Linked DNA regions of Homo sapiens: regions 2 and 3 are each linked to region 1. Evidence: promoter capture Hi-C in 16 types of primary human blood cells and fetal thymus (Javierre and others, 2016). All regions are on one chromosome and are shown on one strand. Each heading gives the region's core, a stretch centred on a gene start or on the middle of the fragment in contact. The rest is flanking DNA. Distances are from core to core; before and after follow the strand shown. Region 1 holds the start of GALNT16 (polypeptide N-acetylgalactosaminyltransferase 16). Region 2 overlaps PLEKHD1 (pleckstrin homology and coiled-coil domain containing D1). Region 3 overlaps CCDC177 (coiled-coil domain containing 177).

Region 1 (4,406 bases), core at 1,285-3,784:
GCATCTAAAGCTTAAGAACAAAGAGGGAGCTGGCTGTGCCCCTAAGTGGCCACAGAAGGCTCTGCCACTCCCAGGGACTTCCATTCTCCCTTTCTTCCTGCACCTTCACTTCCCAGCTCCCAGGTATCTCCCTGATACTCCTTCATACTTTAAACTTAGCTTCCCGCTCTGAGACCTTTTCTTACCTGCAGCAAGTCAAACCCTGTGGGAATAAGCAGGGACAAGAGGATGTTTACTGGTGATTCTCATGACCTCCAATTCCCACCCCTCAAAATGAGTGCTGAATCCTTCCAGCAGGTCCCCTACACCATTCTGGGACTCTTGAGAAATGTGAGCGGCCCTCCCAGTGCATCTTACAGGACTCTGGAAGGAGCAGGAGAGAGGTGCATGGGCCAGGTCAGGGTTCAGGTTCCGGGTTCCAAAGCAGAGGCTCTGAGCAGCAGTCTCCTGTGCTCTCTTCCCTCCTCTCCTCCCTGCCCAGCCTCTTTCTCCGCCCCTTCCAACTCAGACCCTCTTCTCATCGCCTCACCAGAAAGAGGGACAGAGCATCTGGCCAGCCTGCCTTGCCTGAGACTAGGGCTCTTCCTGCCACTGAGTATGAATGTGGCAGCCTGGGCTCCTGGAGAGGAAGCTCCCTGGGGTCTGGAGGCCACTGCTGGTTTGGACAGTTCCAGCTCCAACCTGTCCCTCTGCTCAGATCACAACACTCTGGGGCCTCAGCACAGGAGGCTTTTCCTTATCAGTTTTCTGTCCAAAGGGCGACAAGTGCTTTGGAAACAGTGTCCTGGGAGAACAGCCCAGAAGGGAACAGTGCACCTAATCAGGCTTGCCCCCAGAGAGTTCACCCAGACTGGTATCTAGGACAAAACCCACAACCTCACCCCCCCGCCCCAGGTCTCCTCAGGCAAAGCCCTGAAATAATGTTTCCTTTGCAGGGGACTCGGAATCTGGGGCAGGATGGGAATATGAGGGGACACTCTCCAATGAACTTCCCGATATTCCTGGGGTTCAGATCCGCGTCTGGATGCGTTTCTCGGATTCGGCTCCACACAAGCCTCAGCCCTCCGGACCTTGCACCTCCCCCGCGGATCTCCTCACCCCTCCACCCCCAGGCCCAGATCTTTCCTTGTCGGAATCGCCACGCTTCCTCACTCCTTTACCCCCGCCCCACTCGGCTCTCCTCTTCCTGGTCCTCATCCGGCCAGGCTGCCCCGCCCTGGTAGTTCCCGAGGGTCGTCCGAGGCTCTCGTCCACCAACCGCCCCCGTCTGGAAGAATGCGCCCGCTCGAGCGCACTCTCGGCGGGTGCCAAAGCCTCCCGCCTCAACAGGTGCCCCTGCCTGGCCACGCACAGCTCTGTCACCTGGGGCTCGGACGGAGACGGCGACAGGATCGCCCCCTGCAGGGCGGCTGCGGCTCCGCACGCCCCCGCCCGGGTCCCCAGAGCGCCAAGGGCCCCCGCAGCCCCGCCGCCGCCCCCGCTGTGCCACACTGCCTTTGTTTCCCTGCCCGCTTAGATGTCGCGAGGCTGACTTCATGCAAGGGTATCGCCAAGTTCGGGCGCTGACACTGCCCACCTACCCGTGGTGGCGGACCCTAAGGTTGGGAGTGAGAGACGCGTACAGTGCGAGACCTCTCCTCAACCCAGAGAACTCCGGGGAAGCTGGGTGTCCGCGCCGAAGAAGCGGGTTCAAGTTGACCCGGCTCAGAAGGGGGTTCGAAGCCAGGCGCAGCGCCTAGAGAGCCTTCCCCTACCCACGCCCCCACCCGATGTCCTCTGCCCCCAGAAGGCTGGAGAGGGGCTGCGCACTGCCACCTACGCGCTCGGCTGCGAGTGGTTCCCACCGCCCGCTCGCCGCGCGCTGGGCCCGGCAGCCTTCCGGGGCACACGAGGCTCCCGCAGCCCCCAGACTCCCGGCCCCGGCAGCGCAGAGCCGGGAGAGCCGCCACGTTCCCAGCCGCGCGCGCACGCCGGGCCCACCAAACTTGCAGCACTTTCTCCCAGCCCCCACCCTCTGTCACCCTCCCTTAGTCGGTGCGCCCCAGCCCCGCCGCCCGGCAGAGGTTGCCATAACAACGGGCAGGAATGCTCCAACATATACAAAGCCGGCCCGGCGCAGCGGGCACTCAGCCCTGGCCGGGCCCCGCGCCCTCGGCCGCCGCGCAGGGTCTGGACGCGCGCCGCGGCTCCCTAGCCGGCCGGCCGACGCTCGGGGCGTACTCACAATGAGCGGGATGGTGCGGTCCTCGCGGAGCTGCTCCGACCTCCTGCCTGCCCTCTGCGCGCCCCGGCCGCCGGAGGATGCTGCGTGGGCTCGGTTGTCCTGCCATAAGTAGTAGAAAGTGCCCAGGATCCAGGCTACGGTCAGGATGGCGATGGCATTGGCGCGGATCTTCCTCATGGTGGGCAGACGGGCGCCCCAGGTGGGGGACTGGGCCGGCGTGCTCTCGGGGCCGGGGCGGGGGCGCTCGCAGCCCCAGCTGTTTGTTTTCGCTCGCGCCTAGCTGCTCAGTCCTGCAGAGCAGAAAAAGGAGAGAGGTGGGGGGGCGGGGGGGTGATAGGGAGAGACAGGATCGCGGAGCGATCCTCACGGTCCTAATGCCCTTCAGCCCCGAGCGCGCGCGTCCCCCGGGCGCCCATTCATTCGTGCGCAGGGCCGGCCCCGCGCTCCAGCCGCCGCCGGCTGACCCACCAGGCCACTGCGCACTGGGAGAGAAGCGCGCCGAGTGGGAAGCGGCGCGGGCCTTCCTCCCGCGCCCGGGAACCCGGCGAGACAGACGCCCGCGGCGGAATGGCGACTGGCCAAAGCCAGCCTCGGCTCCCACCGCTAGGTGACCGAACGCCCGGCAGCTGCCCCCGCGCGGCCCTGGTCGGTCCTGCCGACCCACACCCACCCCCGGACCGAGCGGCCTTGAGTCACCGACTGGAGACGCGCGACCCCCGACCTGGGCCCGCGCCGCGAGCTGCAGTTCCGGGCTGCGCTCTGGCGCGGGATTCAAGGTGTGTTCGGCGAGTCCTTGTGTAGGGGCGGCTGGGCGGGGGAGAGTCCTGAGTTTGTACTGGAATCTGCAGCTGAGATTAGCCAGACCGGGCCCGCCCAGAGGAGGGATTGGAAGCTGGTGCACTTGACATTCGAAGAGCGCGAAGGGGAAACGACGCTGCCTCACACCCAGTGCTAGGAGAGTGCGGGTACGGCCCTTCCACATTTTTCGCTGGCCTGGGGCTCCCAGATTTCACGATGCTTCCCTCTATCCCGCCTCATTGACCCCTGGACAACCCTGAAATATCATCGTCAGCATTATTTCATCGGAAAGAAGGGCAGCAAGAGAGGCCGGATGATTCTCCCAAGGCCACACAGCTAATTAGTGGGCAGAGCCCAGTCTAGAAGCCATCTCACCATCTGACACCTTTCGACAAAGTGCAAAACGCGGTGGTGAGAGACGAGGACACAGACATTAAGATTCCGCTCCAGCCCTAGAGGCACTGAGAATCAGAACGTGAACTACTCTTCACTCCAGGCAGAAAGCAAGAGGCTTGGATGAGTTTTAGGAAACCAGCACAGTGTCGGGCACAGAGCGCTCAATGAATAGATGTGTAACAACAAAGTAGGGATCCAACAGAGGAAGAAATAATTTATTGTAAGGTGGCCTTTGGGAAAGCTCTCAGAAAGGTGGATGAATCACTTAAGAGGTAAGGAAGGGGGAGGTGAGGACAGGGGAGAGACTGCAGAAATAGGCCTTGCAAAAATCCAGAGGATGGAAGAGCTTGATGTGTTCAAGAGAGAGAGCTGCCAGGCGTTGCAGGGGGCCTAGGATTTGATAGGAGTTGAGGTTGGCCAGGCTGGGTGAGTCTGAACTCAGGAGGTCCTTGAATGCCGGGGCAGAGTTGTTGAGGAGTCTGCTTCCTGCTGGCACTGCTGGACACCATGGCTACTCCGAAGACCCACATAGGGTCCAGCCTCTAAATGAAGCCATCTGGGGAATCAGGCAAACTGAAGTCACAGCATCATGCCCCCCCACAAGCATCCCATGAGCACCACCCTGACAGATAGAAGTAAAATCAGGTGGCTTTTCTCCATTTCTCCAGCACTCGAGACTGAACCGCACATATAATAGATGCTCAATACATTTCTGTTGAGGTGAAGAAACCCTAGTTGGGTTTTTGCTGAGGAAAACCCAGGGTCATTACTGCAATACGATATCCTCACTCAGAAGACTAATTACGATGACACTTAGACAAGTCCAAAAGTGACCCACGCAGGAATGGGACCTAGAAAGAAGAGAATGCACAAAGAGGGCCTCACAAAGGGTCTACACAAGTAGCAGGGAATTTCAGGCATAAGGTGTGGCAGTCACAACAGGGGCAGGAGTCTGGAGACGCCAGATGCTCTCCCAGGTCTCTCTCCC
Region 2 (4,261 bases), core at 1,016-3,515, 270 kb before region 1:
GGCAAGGCCTTTCTACATGAGGACCACGGGCAGGGCAGCAGAGTCCCAGAGAGGTCCAGTGGGCACCAGGGAGGGCTGCCATCTTCCTCAGTGGGGCAGACCCTGCCTGATGGCACAGTGGTAGACAGCACCTCCCCACCCCACTCCCTAACCGACACAAATCTCCACATACAACCAGGTCCTGTCCTCACCTCACCATGACAACCAGCACCCAGCTCAGGCCTGCATGGCCCTGGTGTGGACCCAAAGGTGGGGTGTGGGGTGAGGATGAGGAAGGCAGCGTCCATGTCCTTTGAGGGCAAGGCTGGCCCCCAAGTGGAGCTCCGGCCCAGAGGAGACATAGGCTCCAGACCAGAGAGGCCAGGAGCTGGTAGAGTGAGGCCTCCCTCTGCCACCCCTTCCCCTCCCCCGCCCATCCAGGGGAGACTTGGGAAGCAGGGGAGGAGCGCCCATCACTTTCCACCCCGGGAGAGTGCCGAGGGGGCTCCAGGCTGGGTGGCCATGATGTGGTAGATGGATTCCCGGAAGCGCTGGTCCCTGCTGAGCCGCTTGGCCACCTCCTTTAGCTCCTCCATGTTGTTGGCATCCAGCTGGGAGGTCATGAAGGACTGGGACGGCTTCACTGGGGAAACAGGAGCCCAACAGCCCTGTGAACAGTGCTCCCTCCACGAAGGCCTGGCCCTGTCCCCAGCCTCATGCCACCCCCTCACTCCTTTATGTGTGCCAAGCTTCTTCCAGCCCCTTCCCACACACACGGGCTTCCATATCCTTTGAGAAACCCAGGGCCCTGAGAATTCACCCGTTTGCCCAAGGATGGTGGGGCCAGGTTCAAGGCCACACTCTCCAGCCTCAGAGCTGGGCCAACCCTTCTGGCTCCCCATGTTGCCCTCTTCCTGCCTTGTCACCATCCCACCAGGGCACGCAGACAGCCACACTCACTGTCATTCCAGGAGGTGCTGGACCGGCGTCGGTGGAAGCGGCAGCTCTTGATGCGGCGAGTGGCTGCCTTATGGATGTACACGGAGTTCTTCATGATCACAGGCATCTTGGCCTCCAGCTCGGCATTCCGGATGCACTCCTCAAAGAACCCTGTGGCGGCAGGGCCAGGAAGGGTGGGGTTCCGACTGCATCCTTACCCCCAGCCAGTCCCTCCCTTCCCAAGGATCCTGGTGAGATTGAGTGGGAAATATTTTGACCCCGTCCCTCGAGATTCCAGAGCCACCTGCTGAAGGGGACTTTCTTTGCCTTTCAAACCACAATCTGCAGCCATCTCAGGGCACGTCTGCTGAGAACAGAGCTCTGAGCTTTTGATAAATGGAAGAAGCTCCTGGCTTTCCTCTCACCACAGATCCAACAGCCACAAGAAAGCAGTGGTGCTGAGATGCCTGCAGGCAGGTAACTGGAGAAGAAACCCTTCAATATCCAGGGAGCACCTCATGCCTAGCAGACCCTGTGTGGGTTTCCTGGCTCTACAGGGCCGGGATCCCATCTGGGGCTGAGTGCCAAAGCTGGGGGCCAGGGCCTAGAGGCAGGGCTTACTTTTCAGATGGCTCACATCAGCCCGCATCCTCTCCTCCTTCTCCTTATTCCGCACCTTGGAATTCAGCCCCTGTTCCAGGCTTCGCAAGGCCCCTTCTGCCTCCCGGAGACGCCTCTCCAGGTCCATGCGGACCTTCACCTCAGCCTGAGGTTGAGGAGAGGGAAATGAGAAGGAAGTCAGGTCCTGGAAGTAGCTGCCATCTTCCCTGGAAGCCTTCCTTGGTCACCCCTGGCTCAATGGGCGTGGATGGGAGTTATCACATCCCGCTTCTGAGTCTTACCCTTTGAACCAGATGGACTGGACTTGGCACCTGCACCCAGCAGGTGTCTGTCAATGATGCAGCAGACTTGCTGCTTCCCCTCGTGGTGGCTCCATCCCCCATGCCTGGCTGTCTGGTCAGACTGACAGAGATAATTCATGCAGCTACCCGGTAAAGTGCAGGGGTGGAAGGGGAGTCTCCAGGGAAGGGGAAGGGCCCTGGCACCAGCAGGCCAGGTCGCACCTTGAGCTCCCGCTCAGCCTGCTGCTTCTCTGCCGTCAGCTCCTGCAGCGAGTTCTGCAGTGCCTGGGACTGGCTGGAGTAGAACTCACGCTCCTCCTCCAGGGCCCGTGAGCGCTCCTCGTTCTCCTTCATCCTGTAGGGACAGAAGAGGCACTTTCTCAATGCTCACTCGCCAAATGGGATTGCCAATGGATGGACAGCTCCTCTTAGAGACCTGGGCTGGAGAAACCTTGAATCCCAGGCTTTATGAGCCCCTGAACTTTGTGGGTCCAGGCACCCAGGGGATGAGATTGATGGTGTGGTCAGTGCTGGGAGCCCTAGGTTTAGAGTCAGAAGACTGGAGTCCTGGGTCCAGAGGTTGCTTGTTCTGTGACCTCAGAAAAGTCATACAACCCCCCTGAGGCTCCATTTCCTCATTTGTAAAAGGGGGCTTAAAAACTTGCCCAGCCTGTCACAAAGCATGGTGACAAGGACTTAATAAGTCTGCATGGTTCACACCATTGCACAAGATAATTATCAAGCCAGCTTTGGGTAGTGAAAGTTCTCTTCCCACTTTCCTGGTGGGAAAACAGAGTCCTAGGCAAAAGGAAGTGAGTGAGTCCTACTTGGTCAGTGCCAAGTAGAACCCAAGAGTCTGGATGTCCAGTTCGAGGAAAGTCCCCAGACCCCAAAGTCAATGGTGTCTTCAGGGGTCGGGGCTCCCTCACCGCTTCTCTGCCAGGAGCTTCTCCTCTAAGAGCTGCTGCATCTTCTCCTCGATCTGCCGGAGGTTGCTATGGAGGCCCCCACTGGGAGGGGGCTGCTCACTCTGATTGGCCAGTGTCTGCAGGTGGTTCTCGTTCTCCTCCAGCATTTCCAGGGTTTTCTTCTTCTCTATGGAGAGTTCCTGGCATGGAGGGAGGCAAGGAAAAGAAAAGCCCAATTTAGGTTCTCCATCGTGGCTGCCCTCACCTGCTTTTCCGTTTGGGGGAGTGACCCACTCCTCTCTCAGTCCTCTATGGCCGCTGAAATGTCTTCATTCTTCTCCAGAGCTAAAAGGCCCAGATCTCTCCCACAACAGGGCAAGGTTACTCCTCCATCAAGAGTCATAAAGGAACCCAAAGTGCCTTCCAGTGGAGACGGCACCTACTAGAACGGGGTCGCATGATCTTCTGGGGTCCTGGTTCCTCCAGGGGTGAATGAGGAGACATAGTGGGCTTACGTGAAAAACACCCAACAGGAACCAGCCCAAGAGCATATTTAGATGCTCTCACAAACAGAGCGAGGCTGCAGTGAGCTATGATTGCACCACTGCATCCCAGCCTTGGCAACACAGCTAGAACCTGTCCCCAAACCACCCCCCACCCCACCTCCAAAAAAAAGATGTCCTCTCCATTTATCAGACTGGGATCTTGTACTCAATGGCATTACACAGAAGCAGAGTTGAAAATATCCATGGGAACCACCTCCCATGATGTGAAACAGGGAAAGATAAATGAATAAAGGCCCCACAAGCTCCAAGGCTCCAGTCAGTCAAGGGAGACAAGAAACCTTTGCAGCCTTGAAGGTAATTCATGCGTACAGCACAGGTATGGGCCATACACCATATGTGCCAGGCCCACTTCAGGGGATGGGCTTGGAGAGACCATGAAGACACAGTCTACTGAAATTCATAGTTTGGAAAACACACCTAGCATGTTAAGTCCCATAAAATATGTACAAAATGCCACGGGAGCCAAGAGCTCAGAGTAGATACCTGCCTTGAAAATCAGAGAAGCTTGACTGAGGAGATATTTGAGCTGAGACTTAGAAGGGTGAATAGAAGTTCTCCAAGCAGAGAAAAGGTGGAAATGATACACTGTGTAGAAGGAACAGTGTGGGAAAAGGTATGGAGCATGAAAGAGCTTGCTTCCTTGGAGTACCTGAGCTCCGCGGTTTGGAGCAGGGGTTGGGAGTCTGTGCAGGGCATGGAGGAGCAGTGAAGGGAAGAGTGAGGCGAGAGGGAAGGGGAGACCAGGGCCAGAGTTTTCACTTGCTTGCCATGCTAAGGAGTTTGTACTTTGTCCTTGAGGCTTGTCACCTCCCCACCCCATCCCAGTTTCTGTGGTATCAGATGATGGTGACCTGGCAGTTGATTTCCCTTTACGTTCAATGTCACTCAGGAGCAGCTAAGCGAACAAGACACAAGAAGGAAGCGGTGGGTAGCTCCACTGCCCACCTTAACCAATCCTCTATCTGGT
Region 3 (4,356 bases), core at 1,459-3,958, 310 kb before region 1:
CAGAGATTCCAACAAAGGACGGGGCTCAGCCATGGTGGACCCAGTGCCTGAAGAAGAGAAGGCAGGAGCGGAACCCGGCGACTCTGGAGGGGACGAGGCCGTGGCGTCCGTGCCCCCTGATTCCCAGGGCGCACAGGAGCCCGCAGCTTCCTCGGCCTCGGCCTCGGCCTCCGCGGCGGTGCCCCGCAAGGCAGAAGTCCCATGTGCAGCCGCAGAAGGCGGGCGGCGGGAGCAGTCCCCGCTGCTGCACCTCGACCTCTTCAACTTCGACTGCCCAGAGGCGGAGGGCAGCCGCTACGTGCTGACCAGCCCCCGCTCGCTAGAGGCCTGCGCCCGCTGTGCGGTCAAGCCGGTGGAGCTGCTGCCACGGGCCCTGGCCGACCTGGTGCGAGAGGCTCCGGGCCGCTCCATGCGGGTGGCCACCGGCCTGTATGAGGCCTACGAGGCGGAGCGGCGCGCCAAGCTGCAGCAATGCCGGGCCGAGCGCGAGCGCATCATGCGCGAGGAGAAGCGGCGTCTTTTCACGCCTTTGAGCCCCGCGGCCGCCGCCGCCGCCGCCGCCGCCGCGGCCTCGGCCCCGAGCGCGGGCAGCAGCAGCAGCTGCAGCAGCGCCAGCCTCCCGGCCTCGCCCGCGCCGCGTGCGGCCCGCAAGGCTTCCCCTAGTCCCTCCTCCGCCCGGACCCAACCTCCGCCAGCGGGTTCTCGAACAGGCAGGAAGAGCCATTCGCTGGACTCACTGTCCCGCCGGCGTGAGGGCGCCCTCAGCTCCGAGTCGGGCGCATCGTCGTCATCCTACAGTGGGGAAAGCTTGAGGGAGCTGCGCTGGCCGCCTCGGGCCTCGGCCAGGAACAGCTGCCCAGCGGGGTCGGCGTCCTCCACCACCAACGCTCCGGGCCGCCCGTCTGCCCTGACCCTGGTTCCGATCACCGGCCGCAGCTTCAGCCTCGGCGACCTGAGCCATTCGCCGCAGACCGCTCAGCACGTGGAGCGCATCGTGCGTCAAGTGCGTGCAGAGCGCGGCCTGCGCGGGGTGCCGGAGCGTGACCGGAAGATCGCGGCGCTCATGCTGGCGCGGCACCAGGAGGAGCTCCTGCTGCTGGAGCAACGCGCGGCTGCCCACGGCCAGTGGGAGCTGCAGCGCGTGCACGCCAAGCAGCGGCGGGAGCGCGAGGAGCGGGAGAAGCAGCGCGCCCTAGAGCAGGGCCGCCGAGCCTGGGCCGCGCAGGTGGAGGAGCGGCGAGGCCGCCGTGGCCGCGAAGAGCGCGAGGCGGCGCGGCGGCGGCAGCGGCAGTACGAGCGCAGCGAGGAGCGGCGGCGGGAGCTGGCCGAACGCCAGGGCCTCCTGCGGCGGGAGCGGGCGGAGCGCGCGGCCCGGGAGGATCGGCTGCGCAAGCTTCAGCAGGAGCAGAACCTGAAGCAACGTGAGGAAGGTCTACAGGAAGGGCGGGAGCGGGCTGAGCAGATCCGCAGGGAGCGCGCCCAGCGCGCGGCCCGCGCCAAGCAGCGGCAGGAGGGCCAGCTGCAGCGGGAGAAGCGGGAGCTGAGCCGGGCCGAGCGGGCGCGCCACGAGGCGCTGCTACAGGGTCGGACCCGGCAGCAGCGCCAGGAGCGAGAGGGCCTGCGGAGCTCGCTGGAAGCCAGTTTGGGCCGTGCGCAGGAGAACTACGAGCATTTGGTGGAGCAGCGCACCCGGGAGCTGCGGGAGCGGGCCCGGCGAGAGGAGCTGCAGGGTCGGCGGGCCAAGGAGGCGGCAGAGCGCAAAGAGCGGGAACATCAGGCGCACCTGGAGGCGCTGGCCCGGGCGGGGGAGCGACGGCTGCAGCACGCGACGCAGGTGGCCGAGGAAGCAGTGCAGCAGAAGGCGCGGCGCGTGGGCCAGAGCCGGCTGGAGAAGGAACGAGCCCAGCGCGCCAACAAGGAGAAGGTGGAGAGGGACGAAGACTGCCGCCGGCGAGAGCTACTCCAGGCCATCGGGCGCAAGCTGGAGCGCAGCGAGCAGCTGACGCGGGAACGGCGCAGTGCGCTGGAGAGCGCCCGCTCCACAGCCCGGGCTTCCTTCCACGTGCGTGAGAAGGTGCGCGAGGAGACCAACACGCGATCCTTCGACCGCATGGTGCGGGAGGCCCAGCTACACGCCAGCCTGGACCGCAAATAACTGCGGCTCTTTGCCAGCCAGATTGGCACGCACAGCCCCCTGGGGCCTCCCTCAACCACTGACCATCGTGGGAGTCCCCGCTCGGTGCGCAGCGCGGTGGCCTCTCGAGGCTTCTGACCAATGAGGCAACAACAGTACAGACGTTTGGGACCTGTCAGCTGGCCCCCTTTGTTTTTAAAACTTACTTCATTTGGAGATGACAGCACAATCTGCCCACATCCACCCTTGATGGCTCCCGCACCGACCCTTGCCAAACTTCCCTATGTGTCTCTTGGGCTGGAATAGAGAAGCTTGGGGGAAAGGGGCTGATCAGGACTGGTGAGAGGGCCCCCCAGGAGAGGGCAGAGGTGGTTGTCCCCACCCCTTCTGCAGCAGTTGCCCCAGGCACCTGTTCGACATTGGTGTCTGAGACAGTGTTGCTACTGCTGAGGGAACATCACCCTGGCTCACCTCCATCTTTCAAAATATGGCAAGCTGCACAAATCGCGGAGGCCTCCCAGAGAAACACAGCTCCTCCAAGGTGTCAAGCCACGCCCAAATGATCCAAAAAGCAGTTGATTTTTTAGACCTTTTAATCGGCCACCTGAGCAAATTCTCACCAGTTTTGATAGTTTTCCAGTTTAGTCCCTTGGGTTTTCTAGTTAGACAGTCATCTGCAGATAATGTTCAATTTTTGTCCTTTGCCCCCTCCCTCATTCTACCAAGTGGCACAGGAAATTGGTTGGTTTGGTGATGCTGTTTAGCTTTAATAGAAACCCCCAGCCCCTGGAGGGGCTGGATTCCTTTGGGAGCAGTGTTCCATTCCATTAAGCTTCCTTGCAGGGTGGGGCCCACTCCATGAAGACAGCAGTCATGCCTTAAGAAGCAGAGCTACCTTACGTGCCTGCCCAGGCTGTTCCTGCCTAAATCTCCAGCCCTGCATGCCGTCTCAAGGGTGGGCCCCAGAGAGTTTGGAGTGTAGGATTCCCTCTGTGAAGGAATCATCTCTACTTCTCTGAGGACAATTAGGGTATCCTTGGCTGCTTTACTGTGGTGGCCGAAGAGCTGGAATTGCCTTTGTTGAGAGTTGTGTTCACTATCAGTGGTCGTGTACCTTCTCCACCTGCCCCCAGGAAAAAGAGTCTCCCCCTTAAATTTCCTGGTACCCCCTCACCTATGCCTGAAAGCATTTCACCCTCTCAATGCCTCACCTTTCCCATTCGCCAGATGGAACCATCAGTATTCCTCTCCTGGTACCGCAAGGCCTCCTGGATCCAAAGCACCATGTCAGTATTATTTGTTGGTCCTTTTTGTGCCTTTCTTGACCTGGAGGGGGAGGCAGGAGGATTGCTGTCAGCCTAGTTTCTTTCTGGGAATATGGCTCCCTAGTGTTGGAAAGGGCAGTGCCTCGTGGACAGATGGTCATTTAGCCTCTGGGGTGAAATACTTGCAATACCAGGTCACTCTGTGGTCCAAAAGGTCACATTCAGTTGTCATCAGGCAACTTTAACCCTTAGAGTGCTTCCCTTCCATTAAGCTGAAATTGCCCCACGGCCATATCCACCCATTGACTCTGCCTTCATCAAGGAAGGTGGGAAGTAAAACATCACTTTTTACATTAAACCAGGATCAGGAATAAAATGTTACCAAAAAAAAAAAATGGAAACAGGGTAGAGAACTGCTACATTAAACATATTTCATATATATTCTGCTGGGTAAAATTGTCCCTGAAATGGCTGATTATTACACACACATCCATACACACACACTTTGTCAACCCTTCACCCCCACTCCATCACATGCCAACAAATATAAAAGGTGTATTCTGTAGAAGGAAGCAGTGCTTGGGTGTTAGGCTCAAGATATCATGAAACAAGGAAAGGAGCTGTTTACCGAGGTTTTTTTATTGAATGGGTGAATTTTTTCCTTAAATTTTCTTCTTGTTGATAACCAGGTTGTCAGTGAGTTGAAATAATTGGTATTATCCATGAGTCAGAAGCATTTAACTAAAAGGTTAATGTGATTCTGGTTCTTACCTTGTGGTTCTTGAGTTGGTAAAGGGCTTTTGAAACCATAGAAAATTCCGCTTTAAAACTACTTACTTCCAAAGTATGTGCATTCATTGGAGGAGACAATCTGATTTTTCAGATAAGGCACTGAAAGGAACATAGGTGGTCTTGCCTGGACCTTTACCTAGTTTGTTTTCTGGCTTACTGAGTGAC

Evidence for each region. Contacts are between HindIII fragments. The CHiCAGO score rates a contact against its expected background, and 5 or more counts as called.
Region 2: a fragment that was not itself captured here is called in contact with the fragment with the promoter of GALNT16 in region 1 in 2 of 17 cell types (M1 macrophages and M0 macrophages); the score reaches 5.6 in M1 macrophages.
Region 3: a fragment that was not itself captured here is called in contact with the fragment with the promoter of GALNT16 in region 1 in 3 of 17 cell types (total CD8 T cells, naive B cells and naive CD8 T cells); the score reaches 6.9 in total CD8 T cells.

The regions. Positions count from the first base shown.
Region 1 is chr14:69,258,286-69,262,691 of GRCh38, reverse strand. GALNT16 (polypeptide N-acetylgalactosaminyltransferase 16) reads right to left here and starts at 2,534. Exons shown (of 15, transcript NM_001168368.2): 1 at 2,225-2,534. The coding sequence starts at 2,401. It overlaps GALNT16-AS1 (GALNT16 and EXD2 antisense RNA 1), which reads left to right and starts at 2,165. Exons shown (of 4, transcript NR_184249.1): 1 at 2,165-2,402. RefSeq lists a silencer at 1,429-1,488. The HindIII fragment of the contact is 12,811 bases long and covers 13-4,406 here.
Region 2 is chr14:69,524,611-69,528,871 of GRCh38, reverse strand. PLEKHD1 (pleckstrin homology and coiled-coil domain containing D1) reads right to left here. Exons shown (of 13, transcript NM_001161498.2): 9 at 2,750-2,928; 10 at 2,043-2,175; 11 at 1,540-1,684; 12 at 940-1,089; 13 at 1-622. The coding sequence ends at 453. Among named protein-coding and RNA genes, the nearest start is that of PLEKHD1, 42 kb to the right of the region's middle. The HindIII fragment of the contact is 3,070 bases long and covers 731-3,800 here.
Region 3 is chr14:69,569,298-69,573,653 of GRCh38, reverse strand. It overlaps CCDC177 (coiled-coil domain containing 177), which reads left to right. Exons shown (of 2, transcript NM_001271507.2): 2 at 4-3,855. The coding sequence starts at 32. The coding sequence ends at 2,155. Among named protein-coding and RNA genes, the nearest start is that of CCDC177, 3.4 kb to the left of the region's middle. The HindIII fragment of the contact is 521 bases long and covers 2,448-2,968 here.